2 separate regions of the Homo sapiens genome follow, and region 2 is linked to region 1. The links are contacts of gene promoters, found by promoter capture Hi-C in human tissues and cell types (Jung and others, 2019). All regions are on one chromosome and are shown on one strand. Each heading gives the region's core, a stretch centred on a gene start or on the middle of the fragment in contact. The rest is flanking DNA. Distances are from core to core; before and after follow the strand shown. Region 1 holds the start of ZSCAN30 (zinc finger and SCAN domain containing 30). Region 2 has its middle 16 kb from the start of GALNT1.

Evidence for each region. The method cuts DNA at HindIII sites, captures the fragments that hold promoters and counts their contacts. A contact is called where the count stands out against the background at its distance.
Region 2: a fragment that was not itself captured here is called in contact with the fragment with the promoter of ZSCAN30 in region 1 in 2 of the 25 tissues and cell types used here (hippocampus and liver).

What each region holds. Positions count from the first base shown.
Region 1 is chr18:35,288,187-35,294,074 of GRCh38, forward strand. ZSCAN30 (zinc finger and SCAN domain containing 30) reads right to left here and starts at 2,043. Exons shown (of 4, transcript NM_001112734.4): 1 at 1,898-2,043. It also overlaps the pseudogene ZNF271P. RefSeq lists an enhancer at 2,160-2,319. The HindIII fragment of the contact is 7,442 bases long and covers 1-5,888 here.
Region 2 is chr18:35,562,779-35,569,518 of GRCh38, forward strand. No RefSeq gene overlaps it. Among named protein-coding and RNA genes, the nearest start is that of GALNT1, 16 kb to the right of the region's middle. The HindIII fragment of the contact is 9,152 bases long and covers 1-6,740 here.

The DNA of each region.
Region 1 (5,888 bases), core at 793-3,292:
TTGACAAAAGACTAGTGTCCAGAATGGACGAAAGATTTGTACAGATACTTCACCAAAGAATATATACAGATGGCATATAAGCACATTACAAAATGCTAAATATTATTAGTCAGTATGGAAATGCAAATTGAAACCACAGTGAGATACACAGTGAGTTGGTAAGGATGTGGAGGAACCGGAACTCTCATGTACTCATGTTAGGAATGCAAAATGATACAGCCACTCTGAAAAGTAGTGTGGGTTTTTTTAAACATTAAATGTACATCTACCATGAGAGAGGGGGAAAAAAGCATATGTCCATATAAAGACGTGTGTACATGAATGTTCTCAGCTTTACTTGTAACAGTAAAAACCTGGAATAACCCAAATGCCCATGAACTGGTGATTGGATAAACAAACTGTGGTATATACATACAATGGAATATTATTCAGCAACAAAAATTAACTATTGATACACACAGCAATAAAGATAAATCTCAAAATAAAAGCTTAGTGAAACAACTCTGACAAAAACAAGGACATTCTGTATGATTCCATTTAAATAAATATCTAGAAAATGCAAACTAATCTCTAGTAACAGCTGACCAGTGGAGGGGGCATTGGGAGAGAGGCTTACCAACGGGCAGGAGGAAACTTTTGGGGTTTAGATGTAATAAACATATTATTTTGATTGCAGTGATAGTTCCACAGCTGTATTCATTTAACAAGCCTTATCAAATTATATCCTTTAAATATTTGCTGTTTATGTCAGTTATACCTCAATAAAGCTGTTTTGTTTTGTTTTGTTTTGTTTTGTTTTGAGACAAAGTCTCGCTTTGTCACCCAGGCTGGAGTGCAGTGGCGCAATCTCGGCTCACTGCAACCTCCGCCTCCTGGGTTCATGGGTTCACGCGATTCTCCTGACTCGGCCTCCCAAGTAGCTGGGATTAAAGGCGCACACCACCATGCCCAGCTAATTTTTGTATTTGTAGTAGAGACAGGGTTTCACCTTGTTGGCCAGGCTGGTCTCCAACTCCTGATCTCAGGTGATCCACCTGCCTCAACCTCCCAAAGTTTTAGGATTACAGGCCTAAGCTGCGCCTGGCCAAAAAGAAAGCTGTTTTTTTAAAACTATCTGCACTCCCTACTTGGGAGGGTTGGACTCAAGTTCCCACATCTCTTTCCTCTTACGGTTATATTAAGGGCTTAGTCATACATCCCTAAATTTCATATATCCCAACAGGGACTTGGGCTGGGACAGGAAGCCCTCTTCCTCCACCTCAACTACCACTTAGCCACCCACCATTTTCTCAAACCTCTTCCTTTCCCCACCGGACAGCTTAAACCAAGTCACACGTCTCATTGGTCTCAACAGAAATGAGGTCCCAACTCCTCATTTCCCAAGATATTTCCATGAACACAGCAATATCCTTTCCTACCCTGATTACCCCGCACCCTCCATTTCGGGTCCTTCTCACCCTGATCAGTGAGAATTGTTCTAGCAAGCAAACCTTAAATAGACCTCGTACCCTTTCTAGATTGCAAAGTAGATAAAAATCCAACTTTCCGTTAATTCAGGGATTAATTACTGAGCATCACTTATTTCTTGGGCAGTGGTTCTCAAAATGTGGTCCCAGGACCAACAGCTTCAGGATCACCTGAGAACCTGGGCTGCCACCGCCCCCTCCCCCACTACTAAATCAGCAACTCCGGAGTTGTGGGGCAGAAGTCAGTATTTTAACAAGGCCTCCAGGTGATTCTGATGCGCGCTACTCTTCTGGGGGTGTGAAAAACCAGAGAGGACAGGAAGAAAGTTAGAATTAAAGCATACCTACGAATCAGATAAGCGATAGGGGGAGGGGTGGTTATTTAAAAAACGATAACTAATTAAGAACTTGTATGTAGTAAGAAAACCTACCCTGCCCCAGAGAGCTTTCCCGAAAGATAATGGATTCCGACATTCACCTCAAGAACCGGCAGACAGAGCAGCAAAGGATCTGTCGCTGGCCAAGCAGGTCCCTGGCTAAGGCACTGCTAGGGACAGCTCGCGGCGGTTCGGGGGTTAATTCTCGGCAGCCCTCCGTCACCCGGTGCCCCACCCCCGCCCTGCGCCTGCGCGGTGAAGCGCCATAGAGCTGAGCACTCCTCCCAGATTCCTAGAGCGGACAGGGCGATGGCAGGTTCGCCGGGTGTGAGGCTTCACAGCGGTCCGGTGACCAAGTCGAGGTAAGGGTGATGTCGGCTCGCGGATAGCAGAGGAGTTCCGGGTGATCTTGCCTAACGAGCAGGAAACTGTGCATGGTTTCTCGAGTCCTTGGAGAGTGAAGGCCCCCGGGGTCGCTCCCGGGCACGGAGAGACGATTGGTTCACGGCCTAGTGTTCGGTTTGTTCCCAGTCAGCCCTTGCTGGCCTTGGGTTCAACCGAATGAACGCCAGAAACTCTGTGGGGTGGGGGGAGTCACCAACCGTGGTGCATCCATACGAATCAGCCTACCGTACTGGGAAAGAGCCACCTGAATTTGTGAATGTTGTAAAAGCAAAAGGAAGAAAAATGATCAGTAGTGTCATTTTTGGATAGGAAGGGCAGCGAATAACATAGTGTTAACCACTAGAATTCACTGTAAAATTCCCCTCTCTGCGTTATCTTTCCAGTTATACCTTTTTTTGGTAGCATTAACCCCTAATTTTGTTTGAACATCTCTAGACTTGGAATGGGGAATGTGTGTCTTAAGTGGGTTAATCCCTGGCTCTTGGATGATGGGGAGGAAGCCTAATACATTCTGAGAGAAAAGCAACTGGAAGTCAAATGAGATTTTTTGTTTTCTCCTTCTTTTATATCTTGAGGATTTTTCTGGTGGTCTAGTCTCAGAGATTACATCTGTAGTCAGCACAATGATTCCCTTCCAAGCCCAGTGGTGCCCAGTTGCCTCCAGGTCCCAGACCTTTATGTGGACAAGAAAAGCTTACAGAGGAAATGGTAATTCTCCACTTGCACACTGAGGTGTCCAGTTGCAGCCCATGGAGATCCAGTTCAATTATGAATCTCAGGAACACCACCTTCTGTCAGGTGAGAGGCAGGGTATTATATCTTTCTTAGTGGCTTTGGCGGGGTGGGGAGGATGAGGGGGTGTCACTCTATGCTAGTGTCTTCAAATGATCCCCCTTAACTCTGTTAGGCAGTATTACCTCTTTAGTGTACCAAGCATAGTCACATGACTTTATTTCAAAATCTGGCGATCAAATTCTCATGCAGCTCTCTCCACTTTTTTAAGACCCCAAAGTCATTCATTTTTCCCTGTATAATGACCTCATTGCTAATCTGTCAGTTTTGGTCATTTTTCTTATCTACTGTAGGGGCATAGTTAAAAGTTCTGGAGTCTGACAACCTAGATTCAAACAGTAGTTTTGTCACTTAACTGGCTCCAGTAAGTTACTCATATATTTTACGATTCTGTTTCCTCACTTTTCAAGTGCATAGTACTTCATACCTTGAAGTTATTTTGAGATTTGTATCTATGTATTACTCCAGAATAAAGAACCCCAAAATTTAGTGACCTAAAACATCAGACTTCTTAAACCACATTATTTCTTATGATTCTGTAGGTCATCAACTTGAGCTGGGTTCACCTGGGCATTTTTTTTTCTCTTGGTCTTTTCTGGGGTCATTTTGCAGTCATCTCAAGGCTGACTCTACTGGGGCCAGGGTCTAAGATGGTTTCAATCACGTTGTCTCAATGTCAAACTGTTAGTGCCGGCTATGGCTTGAGTCCTCATGTCTTCAGCAGGTGACGCTGGACTTTTTCACAGGACAGCTTGTTTCCAGTCAGAGAAGGCAAGCTCTTTTCATACCTATGTTTGTGTTTCATCTGTTAATGTGTTTCATCTGTTAATGTCTCATTGATGAAAGCAGGTCATATGACCAGTTCTAAAGTCATTATAGAAGGAAACTACACAGGGATATGGGTACTGGGAGATAGGATTCACTGGGGTACACTAATACTATAACAGGCCAGGTGCAGTGGCTCACACCTGTAATCCCAACACTTTGGGAGGCCAAGGCAGGAGGAATGCTTGAAGCCAGGAGTTGAGGACCAGCCTGGGCAACAAAGTGAGACCCCATTTCTACAAAAATTTAAAAAATTAGCCAGGCATGGTGGTGTGTGTGTGCCTGTAGTCCTAGCTATTTAGAAGGCTGAGGTGAGAGGATTGCTTGAGCCCAGGAGTTCAGAGGCAGCAGTGACTTATGATTGCACCGCTGCACTCCAGCTTGGGTGACAGAATAAAATGCGATCTCCAAAAAAACACCAAGAAAAAAAAAAACTAAACAAGATCCTTAACGTAAAACTCTGAGCACAGATTTTGCTTACAGTAAATTCTTTATAATTGGTAGCCACTATTATTTTAAGTAAGATAATTTTGATCTCAACGTTTTTCAGGTGTTCTGTAGGGTCTCATTTCCACATCATATGTTACTTCTTTTTGGTTTGTCCTCTCATTGCGCTGTTTTTCCTGTGAGTCACCTTCAGTTGTCCCTTTTCTCACTCTAGATCTTCTGCTTCTTTTTAGTCTTGGAGCATCTTTATTTTATTTTACTTAGTTTTTCTCTCCTATGTGTAGAACTTGTCCTTCCTTAATAATCTATTCCAAGACATCCAGCTCTTTCCTGAGAATCACTGCAGAATTAGACCTTCTCCTTGCAGTTTTGCATAAATTGATATACTTAGTCTTTGTGTTTATGTCTCTTAGAATATGTATAAAATAACATTTTATTATAGAGAAATACAGTTATACTAAAGTCAATTTGTAAAGAATAGGAGAACACAAAACAAAATTTAAATAACCTTCAGCTCCACCCTCTAGAAATAGTCACTGCTAACATTAATATATCCTTAAAATCATTCATCTAATTCACCAAATATTTATTATTGATAAATGTTTACTAATAAGATCATACCTTATTAATTACTAGCCATATAATATTAGTTATTAAGGGTTTGCTCTGTGCCAATAACTGTTCTAAGTGCTGGGGATATAGCAGTGAGCTGAACACACAAAGCCTTTGCTGTCAAAGTGCTTACATGCTAGTGGAGGGAAGGAGAAAATAAATGAATGCTCATTATATTATCAAATAATGATAATGGTTATGGAGAAATTAAACCGGGATATATCAGTGAGGATTCTAGCAGGAAACAGATGGCTCATTCGAGTGCAGTAATTCAAAGTTTCATGAAGAGGATGGGCATGATTACAGAAATCAGCAAGGGATGGAGAACAGCCATGGATCAGACAACACTGGGGAGCAGTTACTACCTGTAGGTCTTCAGGGACCAGGGGAAAGATTGATTACCAGGCCCTGGAAAGTATAGCTGTAGGATTTAGCCATCTGATAGGAGCTCTGGCCTTTGCTAAAAGGCTCAGCTAGTAGCCCAGCGAGGAGAGAGCCAGGATATAGGGTGACCAGTTCATCCCAGTTTGCCTGGAATTTAGCACTGAAATCTGCAATAGCCCCTTCAGTTTTAGGCAAACCATTACAGTTAGTCACTCTACTATTTTCCCACTTGTGCCCAAATCTACTTGCATACCAGAGGGCATGGAACCCCAGGTGGTGCAGTCTGTCAACATCAGTCTCCTGGTACAGAGCAGAGTGGGGCACAGAGCAAGGTGGAGAGTAGATCTGGAGGGGTAAAAGGACAATATTCATTATAATCCACCACTTTTATCCTGCAATATCCACCCCAACATAGCAGAAAAACAAAGTCCCTTAAGCTGCCATTTCATTTCAGGTTGACATAATTAAATCATATTCCCACCGGAAACCTGGAATTTAACTACCACTAGTGCCCTTCATATAAAATGGTGAAGGAGAGGGGGGAAAGGCATAATTAACATAAAACATGACAGCCACTGTT
Region 2 (6,740 bases), core at 2,585-5,084, 280 kb after region 1:
GTTTTGGCCTGAATTCAAACTACTCATTAGGTTTTAAAAATCTCAGTTTGAAAATTTAGAGTAATCTCAAGCATCCGCAGAAGCAAACCAAATCTTTCATGAAAGAAAATACCTTAAATTGAAGCCTCAAAGTTCCAAAGAATAGGAGCTCTCTGTCAAATATTATAGAATATATGCAAAACAAGGTAATGAGGCTGGGCGCGGTGGCTCATGCCTGTAATCCCAGCACTTTGGGAGGCCGAGGCGGGTGGATCACGAGGTCAGGAGATCAAGACCATCCTAGCTAACATGGTGAAACCCCATCTCTACTAAAAAATACAAAAATTAGCTAGGCATGGTGGCGTGCGCCTGCAGTCCCAGCTACTCAGGAGGCTGAGGCAGGAGAATCACTTGAACCTGGGTGGTGGAGGTTGCAGTGAGCCGAGATCGTGTCACTGCCCTGCACTCCAGCCTGGGCGACAGAGCGAGACTCCATCTCAAAGCAAACGAACAAACAAACAACAACAACAAACAAGGTAATGAGTGATAGCAGATAGCATACTCAATCTACAAAGATGCCAACTACTGGAATTAAATAGATACTAATTATAAAATAAGCTTGTTTAGTGGGTATATAGAAATTTAAAAAGGGGGAGTCAAAATTAAACTAGAGAGAAATAACTAACTAAAAGTAACCAAGCATAATTTTAAAGGACCAAAAGATTTTCTAGAAATAAAAAATAATATTTCAAGAATGAGGAAGATCAATAAAAGAAAGATGATGTACAATATAAACCAACAAGACCTAACAGACACAAATAGAACATTCCATTCAATAACAGCAGAGTATACATTTTTCTTAAGTGCACATGGAATATTCTCCAGAACAGTCCCTATGCTATGGTATATAACAAGCCCCAGTAATTTTTTTTTTCTTTGAGATGAAGTTTCGCTCTGTCGCTCAGGCTGGAGTGCAGTGGCGCGAACTCGGCTCACTGCAACCTCTGCCTCGCAGGTTCAAGTGATTCTCTTACCTCAGCCTCCCGGGTAGCTGGGACTACAGGTGCAAGCCACCACACCCCACTAATTTTTGTATTTTTAGTAGAGATGGGGTTTCGCCATGTTGGCCAGGCTGCTCTCGAACTCCTGGCCTCAGATGATGCACCAACCTTGGCCTCCCAAAGTGTTGGGATTACAGGCGTGAGCCACCGCGCCCAGCCAAGCCCCAATAAATTTAAAAATCAATTTTGAAATTATATGAAATAGATTCTCTGACCACAATGGAATGAAATTAAAAACTGATAACAGAAAAAAATTGGAGATGTTCACAAATATGTAGAAATTAAACAATATTCTTCTAAGTAACTAAAGAGTCAAAGAAGAAATCACAAGGGAAATTAGAAAATGAATGAAAATAAAAATGCAATATGCCGAAGTTTCTGGGATGCAGTGAAATTAATGCTTAGAGGGAAATGTATACTGATAAATGTCTATATTTAAAAAAAAAGAAAAAAATCCACATTAAGAACCTGATATTCTACCTTAAGATATTAGAAAAAGAAGAGCAAACTAAACCCAAAGAAGCAGAAGGAAAAAAAATCATAAAGAGTAGAGAGAGAAATAAATAAAGAATAGAAAGATAATGGAGATAATCACCAAAAGTTTCCTTTTTTAAAATAAGTTCACTGGTATCTCTTTCCTATTTATAGCCAAAGGAGACTTCTCTGTACCCAGAATCTCAGTAAATGACAGTAAAATACGATTTCCTTTCACCAATGCTCTCAGGTAAATGTTAGAAATTTCCCCAAAATAATGTTACTGTTTTATATTTAATGTAAATACTCTTCTAACCAAGCTCTAAAATTGTCACCTAAAGTTACATCATTATCCATTCATCCTTTTGGATTAAGTATTGCCCCCAAAAGAGTCATTGATTTGAAAAGATTTTTAAAAATTGACAAAACTTTAGCTAGACTGACCAAGAGAAAAAGATAGAAGGCTCAAATTGCTAAAATCAGGAATGAAAGATGAGATATCATTATTGATCTTCAATAAATAAAAAGGAATTTAAGGAAATACTATGAATAATTGCATGCCAACAAGTTAGGTTACCTAAAAGAACAAATTTCTAGAAACATACAAACTATCAAAACTGTCTCAAAATGAAAGAGGAAGTCTGAGCAGAGAGACAAGAAGTAAAGCGATTGAATTATCTATTAACAACAACAACAAAACAAATGAAGAAACAAACAAACCAAAAACTAACCACACAGAAAAGCCCAACCCACATGGCTAAACTACTGGACTCTACTGAGCTTTTAAGAAAGAATTAACATGAGTTTTTCACAAACTCTTGTAAAAATTAGAATTGGTATATACTTCCCAACTTACTCTCTGAGACCAGAATTTCCCTGACACCGAAACTAGACAAAAACATCACAAGAAAGCTACAGACCAATTTTGAATACAGACTGAAATATCCCCATCAAAATACCAGCAAACTGATTTCAGCAGCATATAGAAAGGATTATACATCATGACCACGTGGGATTTATCACAGTATGTGAGCTTGGCTTACCATATGAAAATCAATCAATGTAACATGTCATATTAGTAGAGTAAGGGGGCAAAAACTACATGATCATCTCAATAGACATAGAAAAACATTCCACAAAACCCATCCTTTCATAAAAAAAAAAAAAAACTCTAGGGATAAAGGAGAAATTCCTCAATCTGATAAAGGCCATCCATGAAAAACACATAGCTAACAATGTATTTAAAGGTGAAAAACTGAGTATTTTCCCCCTAGGATCAGGAACAAGACAAGGATATCCGCTCTCACTGCTTCTATTCAACATGATATATTGGAAGTTCCAGCCACAGCAATTAAGCAAGAAAGAAACATAAAACATTCAGATTGGAAGGGAAGAAGTAAAATTATATAAAATCAACAAGATTGCAGGATACAGTATCAATATACAAAAAGCAATTATATTTCTATATGTAAGCAATGGGCAATCTGAACGTAAAATTTGGAAATATTATGTTTATAATAGCATCAAAAAGAATAAAATACTTAGAAATAAACTTAGGAGGAGTAAAACTTGTGCACTGAAAATTACAAAACATCATTGAAAGAAATTAAATTAGGGCCAAGTGTGGTGGCTCATGCTTGTAATCCCACCACTTTAGGAGGCTGAGGCAGGTGGATCACATGAGGCCAGGAGTTCAAGACCAGCCTGGCCAACAAAACGAAACCCCATCTCTATTAAAAACAGAAAAAATTAGCCAGTTCTGGTGGTGTGCACCTGTAACCCCAGCTACAACCTGGGAGGTTGAACCTGGGAGGTGGCAGTTGCAGTGAGCCAAGATCGTGCCACTGCACTCCAGACTAGGTGATAGAGCGAGACTCTGTCTCAAAAAAATAATAAATAAATAAATAAATAAATAAATAAATAAATAAATAAAATTAGACCCAAATCACTATAAAGACATCACATGCTCATGGATTGGAAGACTCAGTATTGGTAAAGTGGCAATAATCTTCAAACTGATATTCAAACTAAATACATCCCCTATCAAAATCTTAGGAATTTCGAAAGATTAATCCAAAAACTCGTATAGAAATGGAAGGGATCCAGAATAGCCAAATTATCTTGAAAAATAAGGATAAAATTGGAGCATTCACACTTCCTGATTTCAAAGCTTACTATACAGCTATAGTAATCAGTGCAGTGTGGTATAAGAATAGACATACAAATCAATGGAATAGAACTGAGACTCCAGAAATTACCCCTTACATTTACTGATTTTTGAAAAAGATGCCAAGACAATTCAAAAGGAATTTGTGTGTATCTGCACACGCAAAAATATTCGTTAGCAAATTATTAATCAGAGACACAATGAGATACTACCACCTCACACCAACTATGGTGGCTCTAATATAAAAAATGGAAGTAATATGTGTTGGCAAGGATGTAGGAAAACTTAAATTCTCACACATTGCTGGTGGGAATGTTGAATCCTGCAGCCACTTTAGGAAACAGTTTGGCAGTTCCTCAACTGATTAAACATAGAGTTACCTACTGCATGTCCCAGCAATTCTACTCTCATGCATACAAACAAGATAATTCAAAACTACACACAAACTTGTACATCTAAATGTTCATAGCAGTGCCAAAGTAGAAACAACCCAAATGTCCATCAACTGAAGCATGGTTAACAAACAGTGGTGTGGAATGTGGCATATACAATAGAATATTACCTTGCAATAAAATGAAATAAAGTACCCATGCAAAATGGATCTTGCAAACCTCATGCTGAATGAAAAAAAGCCAGACACAAAAGGCTACATATATTATAGTACTCCTTTTATATGAAATTTCCAGAATAGGCAAAGCTATAAAAATAGACAGTAGATTAGTAATTTCTAGGGGTTGGGAGACGAGGAGAATGGGGAATGACTGCCAATAAATATGGAGTTTCTTTTGCGGTTGATGATAATGTTCTGCATGTTAATGGTGGTGGTAGATGCGCAAATCTGTGAATACACTGAAAAACACTAAAATTCTATACTTTAAAAATTATTTTTGGTATAAGAATTATATCATCATAAAGTTTTATAAAATAATAATTGATATTAAAAACTCAAAGGATGAATTAGACTACAGGAAAGAATAAGTGAACTGGGATATAAATCTGAAGATATGACCCAGAATACAACAAAAAGATGCAGAGATGGAAAATATACAAGAAAAGTTAAGAGATATCAAGGATAGAGTGAGAACATTTAATAAGTCTAATCAGAGTTCCAAAAGGAAAGGAAAGAGAATAGGAGAGAGGCCATATCAGAAGAGATAATGGCTGAGTATTTTTCAGAATTGATTAATGATACCAATTCTCAAATTCAGGAAGTGCAACAAGTTCCAAGAATAACTTAAAAAGAAGAAAAGAAAAGAAATTAACACCTGGACATATCATACTAGTCTGCAGAACACCAAAGACAAATTGAAGCTCTTAAAAACGGTCAGGTGAAATATAAGTCAGCAATAAAAAGGAACAAATTATTGAAACACCCAGAAACTTGATTAGATTTCAAGAATATTAGGCTGAGTGAAAAGCCAAGGTACAAAATGAGGCATGAGTCTGTGCTAGTTGCCATAACAAAATACCATAGACTGAGGGGTGTAAACAATAAAAATGTATTTTCTTACAGTCTGGAGGCTAGAAATCCCAGATCAAGGCCCAGCAGGGTAGATTTCTGGTGAAAGCTCTCTTCCTGGCTTGCAGAAAATCACTGTTTCCCTGCCCTCATATGGCAGAGAGAATGAGAGAGAGGGAGGGGAGAGAGAGAGAGAGAGAGAGAGAGAGAGAGAGAGAGAGAGAGAAAAGTTCCCTGGTGTCTCTTTGTTTAACCTCATTAAAGGCTGTATTTCCAAACACAGTCACATTGAGTGTTAATAATACAGTCACATTGAGGTTAAACATAATTCAATTCATAGCATGCAGCATGATTCCAGTTATGTAATATTTTCAAAAATATAAAATTATAGAGATGGAGAGCAGATTAATAGTTGCCAGGGGTTAGTGATGGTAGGAGGTTTGGGTGTGGCTGTTAAGTGGTAGCATAAGGGAGATCTCTGTCATAATAAAATCATTCTGTATCTTGAAACTACTGAGTGATGCTTACAGAAATCTACACATGTGATACAATGAGATAGAACTATATATACACAATGTGCCAATATCAATTTCCTCATTTTGCCATTGTATTATAGTTAAGTAACATGTAACCATTGGGGAAAACTGCGGGGAAGGGTACAAAGGGCCCCTCTTTTCTATTTTTGTAGCTTTCTGTGAATCTGTAATTATTATGAAATAAAAAGTTTTTTAAAAAGCAGCCAGGAACAAAAGATAGTTTACTAATTAAAATTTTGGTCTGAGATACATGAAGAAATGGTTAGCAATTAAACCAATAAATTATCAATAAATATAAATATTATTAAACTTTCTAGAAGAAATAGAGTATATAATCTCCAAACTACTAAATGCATAAAAATAAAGTGAAAGAAAAAAGGCTGAATGACTCTAATTTTTTTTTTTTTAGAAATAGGGTCTCACTCAGTCTTCCAGGCTGGCATACAATGGTGTGATAGCTCACTGCAGCCTCAAACTCCTGGGCTCAAGCCATCCTCCCATCTCAGCCTCTCAGCTAGCCGGGACTACAGGTGCACGCCACCATACCCAGCTAAGTTTTTTATTTTTTGTAGAGATGGGGGTCTTGCTGTGTTGCCCTGGGCTCAATCATTCTTCCCACCTCAGCCTCTCAAGGTATTGGGATTACAGGCATGAGCTACCGTGCCTAGCCTTGAATGAATTTTTAAATTAAGGAAAGATGGAAGAAATAAAAACTGAAAACATAAGAAAAATAGAAACCATAAAAGTACAAGAAATAAATTCAAATATAATTAAAAGTAGAATAAGCTCAGTTTTGAAGACAAAATTTATTGTATAGATTTTTAAAAATCCATTATATGCCATCTTAAAGAGACATACCTAAAACAAGGCATGGAGAGTTGAAAATGAAAGGACAGGGAAAAAATATCAAAATAGAAAACTAGGTGTCTAACTGTATTAAAGTCAGATAAAATATTAATAGATGTTAAGGTGAAACTAAAGGATACAGATTTCCTGTCAATGTAAGGAAGAAATCGCTAAGGGAACTAACAAAAGTAGAATAAGTGACATCCAGAGTCACTGAA